Linked DNA regions of Homo sapiens: region 1 is linked to region 2. The links are contacts of gene promoters, found by promoter capture Hi-C in blood cells and fetal thymus (Javierre and others, 2016). All regions are on one chromosome and are shown on one strand. Each heading gives the region's core, a stretch centred on a gene start or on the middle of the fragment in contact. The rest is flanking DNA. Distances are from core to core; before and after follow the strand shown. Region 1 holds the start of SDR42E1 (short chain dehydrogenase/reductase family 42E, member 1). Region 2 has its middle 93 kb from the start of MPHOSPH6.

What was found. The method cuts DNA at HindIII sites, captures the fragments that hold promoters and counts their contacts. A CHiCAGO score of 5 or more calls a contact.
Region 1: a contact is called between the fragment with the promoter of SDR42E1 here and a fragment that was not itself captured in region 2, in 1 of 17 cell types (monocytes). The highest score is 6.0, in monocytes.

What each region holds. Positions count from the first base shown.
Region 1 is chr16:82,009,888-82,014,144 of GRCh38, reverse strand. It overlaps SDR42E1 (short chain dehydrogenase/reductase family 42E, member 1), which reads left to right and starts at 2,675. Exons shown (of 3, transcript NM_145168.3): 1 at 2,675-2,758. RefSeq lists enhancers at 2,331-2,410, 2,421-2,510 and a silencer at 2,751-2,900. The HindIII fragment of the contact is 9,437 bases long and covers 1-4,257 here.
Region 2 is chr16:82,260,847-82,264,971 of GRCh38, reverse strand. No RefSeq gene overlaps it. Among named protein-coding and RNA genes, the nearest start is that of MPHOSPH6, 93 kb to the right of the region's middle. The HindIII fragment of the contact is 623 bases long and covers 1,138-1,760 here.

The DNA of each region.
Region 1 (4,257 bases), core at 1,426-3,925, 250 kb after region 2:
CCCAAGTAGCTGGGACTACAGGTGCCCACCACCTCACCCAGCTAATTTTTTGTATGTTTAGTAGAGACAGGGTTTCACTGTGTTAGCCAGGATGGTCTTGATCTCCCGACCTCGTGATCCGCCCGCCTCAGCCTCCCAAAGTGCTGGGATTACAGGCGTGAGCCACCGCACCCGGCCAGAAGCCTTGGCTTTTAATCACAGGTCTGTCATTTACTAGTTCTGTGACCTTGGGTAAGTCACTTAAACTCACCTGATTTCCAGATGCAGTGTGGAACTATTACAAGGTTTCTCTTACCCACCTCAGAGAGTTGTAGTGCTACTACTACTAAGTCATAGCACTTTTAGGGCAGTGCTTATCAGCCTTTACTATACATAGGAATTACCTAGGGATTTTGCTGAATACAGATTTGTATTTATTAAGCCTAGAATGGGATCCAAGACCCAACATTTCTAATAAGCTCTCAGGTGATGTTGATGTTACTGATCCACACTTTTGGATAGCAAAGTTCTCATGTGCCTACCAAGCTCACAATAATTTCCGTTCTTTAGAAATGACCACAGTTTATAGCAGTTCTTGTGTCCTTTTGCCACAGCTGACAATGGTAGAGGTGATTTCTGATCCAAGCTGGGCCAAAAGAAGGTGTCGTTTGCAAGCCTGGGATTTTGAACAGGGACAACCAGAAATGTGACATATATTCATTTGCTGATTCATTCACCAGTAAAAAAAAAAAAAAAAAAAAAAAAAAAATTCTGTCTCTATGCCAGACACTATAGTAGGTAGTGGAGATACACCAATCAATCAAGCAGGTCTCTGCACTCACGGAGCTTTCATTATAGCAACATGCAAGATAATTTCAGATGAGCTAAGTGCTGTGAAGAGATTGAAGAATTTCAAGGGGATGCAGGAGACTTTAAGTGAAAGTGTTGGGGAAAGCCAAGCTCTTACTTCCTCTTCTGTAGTGACCTTGGCAGCCAAGAGTTGAACATGATGGCATAACAAATGGGGGAAGCCTGGGTCCCTGAGTGATTATGTGGAGCACAGCACTCTTCCCCTTCCCTGCAGACTGAATTGGACTGTGATCGGAGTGAGAAATAAAATACTGCACACCTGTGAGTAATTGTGACAGCAAACTGATCTTTCTGAGATGCATCCACTGCCTGGACATATTATTGGGGGAAGACAATACTAAACAAACACTGATATACAAACTCACATTGAAGTTAATTTCTTTCTCCAGTCATTTCTGTCTTAGATCTCTTGGTCAGACCTTTATAAAATCAACTCACTAAATTATGATGGAAGCTAAGGAAGCAATTATAGAGTTTGTAATTTTCCTTTAAAACACGCCTGATTATATTTTAAAAGAGTCCTCGGTGGCACAAGAATACTAACATTTAAATTCACCATTTCTCATGTTTATCCACACACTCTAAATCTGGGTATCCCTCAGAGGATCCTGTAATTCCCCAAAGGAAGTCTGTCTTCTTTACTGCATCCTCAGTGGGTCTTTTCTTCCTTAGCTGCTGGCCTCAAGAGCATATAGCTGGTCTCTCAGCCCCCTGAATACCCTTCCTCTTCTCTTCTAATTTTTATGTATCCTAAGCAGCCACTGCAAAGCTGTTCTTTAAGACTGCTTAGCACAAGAAGTCTCCTGTGACTTATGCCTGCCTAATAGGTGAGGACAAGACAGGCAGGAAAGCCAGAGCATCCTATGAGAGAGGCCAGTGCCAGGGACTGGCACTTCTTGATTTCTTCACCTGGGCTTCATTAATTTTTATATCCTAGGACTTGAGCTTTGTCCTTGTGACTGTGTGTGCTTAGTGAAAACTGAGCAGTAAATCAGGCAATTGATATGAACCTCTCTGAGTCTGCCTTTGGTACCAGATCTATCGGCAAGAGCACCACATGAAGTCAAAACTTCCATCCTCCAAGACACTAAAATGAAATCCTCCCCAGCCAGGGGTCCATTCCAGGATGCATGTCCATACACGTGTACAGTCTGCAACCATCCACAGAACCACACTCATGATGAGGAGACAAAAGATGGGCCTCAAAAGGAGACCTCTGAGTGAGGATGCCAACTTTCCTTTCTGCATTCCTTGGTTCCTTCAGCAACAAAGATTAGTCTTGGCATCACTGCCTGCTTGGCGACCAGAACAAAGAGAAATAAGGAAAATTAGGGACACAGGAAAACCTATGGGCACACATAGATATGGAAACTCAGAGATAATAGAAACTTAAAGAGATACATGGAGAGTGAATATTCTGCCTCCCTATAGAGCCTTTTCCATCATCCATCCACCCAAGCAATGCTGACCTGAGTGCCTATTTATCAGGCACTGGTCTTGGCCTTGGGGATAAACAAAGATGGAGGTGAAAGTCTAAAAGCAGACACTGGAGGTGGGAAGAGCAGTTGACGTGGCCCTAACAGGGTTCCCACCACGGCGGAACGCACAGACAGGGGACGTGGGGGAAGACGTGACCCTAAAAGGGTTCCCGCCACGGCGGAACGCACAGCCAGAGAACGTGGGGGAATTCATGAAGCGAACCTCCTGCTACCTCAACGCCGGTGAAGGTGAAGGAGACACCTGCGCGTCATAGAGACTCCGAGACCTCCAGGCTTCCTAGAGAGGCCCGGAAGTGGCTCCAGGAGGCAGGTCCGACGGCTTCGGCGCCCCAGCTGTGGTGATGGGTAGCTAGGAGGCCTGGGCCTCTCTGCCTGCTGTAGCCGTCTGCCGCGCCCTTGTTCCTGCAGCTGTGAGTGGGCCTGGGCTGGGGTTGGGGGGCCGCCGCCCTTCCGCGGGGACCCTGGACCGCCTCGGCCTGGAACGCGACAGGTGGCGGTCCCGGGGGTGGGGGACGGTGGTGAATGACTGAGCAGGGTGGCGGGAAGGAGTATCCCCTTTCAGATGTCTTCCTGATCCCAGGGGACCGGGCGCAGCTTGGCTTTCTAGAATGTCGCCAAGGCCTCAAACACTGGCCCTCCGCATTTTTTGTTTTTAAGGACATCGGGGCCCCAAGCTCCGAACTTTCCACAGGTGGCTGGCTATACTTGATTCCTGTCTTTGATTTTCTGCACACTTTGGGAGAACGATTACCTCCTCTTTATCACTTGGTTCTGGTTTGCCACTTAAAAGTGGCAGTGACAGGTTCCCATTTAAACTGCATGTATTTGTTGGGAAAAGGTAAGTAGGTTTAAACAAAACCTTATAGGCTAGTCATAATACCAGATGAATCAGATGTGACAGAAATTGTGGAGGTGGAGTGAGCCCTGAAAATCTGAGACGGGTCTCAGTTCATTTAGAAAGTTTATTTTGCCAAGGTTGAAGACATGTACCCATGACACAGCCTCAGGCGGTCCTGACGATGTATTCTTAATGTGGTCAGAGCCCAGTTTCGTTTTCTACATTTTAGGGAGACATGAGACAAGAACAGATGTAAGATGAACATGTTTTTCGGTCTGGAAAGGCGGGACAACTCGAAACGGGGAGGGGGCTTCCAGGTCATAGGTAGGTAAGAGACAAATGGTTGCATTATTTTGAGTTTGATTAGCCTCTCCAAAGGAAGCAATCAGATATGCCTTTATTTTAGTGAGCAGAGATACATGAATAGAATGGGAGGCAGGTTTGCCCTAAGCAGTTCTCAGCTTGACTTTTCCCTTTAGCTTAGTGATCTTGGGACCCCAAGATTTATTTTCCTTTCACAGTGATAAGATAATGACCTAAGCGAATCTGTATTGTCCCAGCCTTATTGTGCGGCATTACATGTAGTGGTTAAGAGTCATACAGACCCGGCTTCAAGTCCTGAACCCTGCCCAACCCCTTATGACCTGCATAATTTGTGGGCAAGGTTCCTAACCTCTGATCTATTTTCCTCATTTCTGAAAGCTGATGATAATACTAGTAACAACTTCGGAAGATTGTCCTGAGGCTTAAATGCTAAACCTTTAAACTACCTGTATTAATCCATTCTCATGCTGCTAATAAAAACATACCCAAGACTGGGTAATTTATAAAGTTAAGAGGTTTGATGGACTCACAGTTCCACATGGCTGGGGAAGCCTCATAATCATGCCAGAAGGCAAAAGAGGAGCAAAGTCACATCTTACGTCTTATATGGTGGCAGGCAAGAGAGCTTGTGTAGGGGAACTCCCCTTTATAAAACCATCAGATCTTTTGAGACTTATTCACTATCAAGAGAACGGCATGGGAAAAACCCACCCCTGTGATTCAGTTACCTCCCACTGGGTCCCTCCC
Region 2 (4,125 bases), core at 200-2,699:
AAAGTAAAGCCCCATTAACTTGAAGGAGGACCATTGAAATTTCCCTGTGCACACAAGTCCTTGCCAGTGCGACCTTGGCCGTTTCCCGGCCTGGAAAAAAAAAAAAAAAAAAAAAAAAAAAGTGGCGACGGTCAAACTCTCTTTTCCATGGTTTGTTGTGAGAGCTCCAAGAACATGTGGAAACACATGGCACGTGGTAGATTCTCAATAGCACTAAGCTCTCCCTCCTGAAATAGAAAAGTGCGAGACACAGGGGAAGAAGTATAAGGGGGATAAGGGAGCAGAGGAGGGGAAAGGGTTGACTAGGGCTCCAGCTGCTCCTGCCCAAAAGGGAGCTACCAGGGAGCATCCTAAGTCAACTGTATTCCATGGCTGGAAGGTGGAGCCGGGAAAAAATGGGGAGCATAGAAGAGAAGTATCTTGATACCTCAACCCAATATAGTCATGTCTAGAAGGGAGACACTTTTCCCAGGGAATGTGTAGATGAGGTCAAGCTCCAATGAGAAGCTGTGAATTAACCATAATCTTCAGAGCCCAGAGCCTGGAGAGATGCTGATGGCACCCGGAAGTAGGAACTGAAGCTCTCCTACCCGTATTATCAGTAGAGCTTTTCCCTCTGTCAAATCAGAATCCTCTGGAGGGCTTGTTAAAGGACAGATTGCTAAACCCCAACCCAGCCTTTCTGATTCAGTAGATCTGGGGTGCAGGCCAAGAATGTGCATTTCTAACAAGTTCCCGTGTGATACTAGTTCTGCTGGTCCAGGGACCACACTTTTAAGAACCGCTGTGCTATACCTTTATTTAATATCCTTATGAGAGATCCTCAGCCTAAAGCTAACAGAGACTTTGAACAACTCCTCCTCCTATTGGCGCCCCTGCACTTGAGTTGAGACATTGTGCTAGCTGACGCCTGTGAGCCCTGCCAGCTCTGGTGTTCTGCGATTTTGCAAGGGTCTAACCAATTCAGTGCATTTACTGCTTAGCTCTGGGCTGGGAATGGGGAGAGAGCAGGCGTACAAGTGTGATTGAGCGACAAGGAGAATCTCCAAAAGACAGAAAGAGCAAATACTGCATTTTTTTCCTATTTCCCTAATTTTGTTCCATACTCTAAAGCACTCTCCTGACTTCAGCTAAGCTTGCCCTGGGATCCTGGGCTTGGCAGATATTTAAAATAAAGAATGAGCTGTTTGGCAAGGTAAAGTTTTCCTAAACGTCCTCCCCACCAAAGATTCTCAGCCCCTATGGCTGTGCTTCTGTGACTCAACAGTGACATCTGGTGGCCATGAAGGTGCATCCCAAGCCCTGATAACACCTGCTCGTGCTTCTGAAAACTACGGCACATACAGGGGATGCCCAAATTGCCGTAAATAAGCTCATTTATCAATCACATATAACATACCCCTACTATCTGCAAGCAAATTGTTCTCTTGGTTGAATGCGAAAAACATTAAAGTATCTGACTTCTATTTTAAATCTCTATTCATTGACCCATTTGAAAGGATACAATCCTTAGGAGGCTGACAACCCACTGTGGTTGATGCATCTTAACTAATATTCACATTTAAACTGTTTGGTTAAAGGAATGCGTCAAAGCATTTGGCAGTGGAAAAACAACACAGCCTAACTTTGCATGCAACAATTTGATCTAAGCAAATAAATAAGTTATTTTCATTTCCAGTTTAACGTAACAAGAATATTTCTACAAGATAATTTGCTTTCAAAAATTCTAGCTGTGAAGTTTAATAACAGAACATGAAGCTTCGTGTCATTTCATATTTATGCTCCAATCCCAGTTTTGACAGTTCCCATGGGCTCTGGACTGCTTGGCTAGAGATATTTTAGGCCATGTTTTCATAACAACAGGTAGAAAACGCAGCCCTAGAGCCAGGAAAAAATAAAGAGCCTTTAATAGGGTTTTAGACATGGGACTTGCTCACCTTTTTCTCCTCCTTGCTACCAGGCAAGTTTACAACTCAAAGAAATGGTCAAGTTTTCCCTTCCAGTCTCCTAAATATATGGTACTAGACGCCTGTTCCAAGCTCGCAGTGTCAGAAAAGTCCCTTCTCTCCCCGGATTGGCTAACAGCAATGGCAGCTAGCTGGTACTGATCAAGAGTTGATGCCATGCTGGGGGTTGTGCCCAAAGCATCATACGAAGCTGGCCAAATCTCCAGGGAATCACCAGGAAGGAAGAACTATGTGTATCTCATTTCACAGATGAGGTAATGGGGCCTAGCTGGTGAGGACCTTTGCACATGGTCTCACAGATAGCATGGGTTCTGAACCCAGACATCTAATTCCAGACTAGGATCAGCCCTGGCCAGGTGTGTCAGGGTGAATCTGACCCATCCTCACCTAGTCAAACCCTTCAAAGGGCAGCTTCACCATTTTCTCTTCCTGCCCTACATTTCCCACCACTCTCACACCCACAAACCCAGCCCCTTCCAATGGCATCAGTGCCTCTTGCCAGTGAAATCTCACCCTGCTTATCACTAGCCCTCCCACAGTCCACCCTTGCTTTAAGTGGGTGACATGAATGTTAAGCATCTTAAAGGCAAGACTCATGTCTAATTTGTGTCTATATTAATCCCAAGCGCTGGCACCGGACATTATAAGCAGTCAGCGGCCAGTACATGTTTGCAGGATGAACAGATGAATAAATGGACCTGGAGAAATGCACTTCCATGCTGTAAGAGATCCCTGGGGTCAGGAAGGGAGCTAATCCCATTGGAGGGCATGGACAGTGATGATGCTAACCCCCAAAGAGTGGACAGGGGAGTGGGAGCACAGGGAGGACATCTAAGGAATGTACTCAGAAGGCATCTCTATACCCAGGTTGTCACCAACAAGCAGAGTGATCCCACCACTGAACAAGACACCTTCAAGGCAGAGTCAGGCACTGCAGCATGAAGCCAAAACAGAGGACTCTGCAACCTTCCCCCTTTAGCCCCTCTGGTGGGGCATTTAGGAAATATACAGAACCCCCCTCTCTTCTCTAGCACAGAAGTACCACCACCCCTTTCTAGACTGTGAGCTCTTCGAAGGCACAGGCTGTTTGGTTCTCTGCTAAATCCTGGATATCCTTGACACCTAGAGGAGGTTCAATAGGTATTCTTAAAGCATTCAAGCCTTAATTTCAGCAGCCACTACAAAGCAGTGGTAAGGGAGAAATCTGTGTCATATCCAGAGCAACACCCAGAATTCCTCAGTCTTTTCTGAAACAGTGATGTATCCGTCTTCATATTTTGTAGATGCTAATTGTTGACAAGATGATTTGGTAGCTCAAAAAATTGGAACTGACACCGTCAACCTGTTTAATCCATTTACAATCTTTGATCATCAGTGCAAGGGACTTTGTCAACTGAGTGAGGCCAGTTTACCTTGTGAGGCCAGCATCTTGTTTCCTATTAGTGATGAGCATTACAAGTAAGTAGATTGGCTTAGCATGTTAAATAGCATCCAACAGCCCAGCAAAAATCACACGCTAATGTAAGAAAATAGAATCTGTGAAATAAGGAGAGGGAGGATTCAAGCCAATGCACATTTACTGAGCAAAAGTTTTGCTAACTAGCTTCGCCACCACTGGACTTGCTGCACCCCATCCTCCACAAATTGTCCAAAGTGATCTTTCTAAATGCCAATTGGCTCATATTGCCTCCCTGTTTAAAATTCTTTAGTAGTTTCTCCAATCTCTTTATCATGTCATCCCAGGCTGTCTGGAATATGGGCCTTGCATACCTCCCTAGCCCAAAACATCTCCCTTTCCTCACTCCACGATATGCTACACACACTCCCCCTGTACTCCAGAAGTCTCATGGTATGCATGAATGGCTGCAGAGTCTCTTTCAACAGGACCTTTGCACATGCTCCTCCCTCCTTTTGGAATAATTTCCTCTACCCTTTCACCTAGCTAATTGCTTCAGGATTTAGACAAACTGTTTATTGCATCCAAGGAGACTTCCCTAATGTAATGGGGTTAAATGGTGGTCTCTAAAAAGATACGTCTACATCCTAAACCCCAGAACCTGTTAATGTGAAAATAAAAAGGGCCTGTAGGGCCTGGTGTGATAGATCATACCTATAATCCACCCACTTTGGGAGGCCGAGGTGGGTGGATCACTTGAGC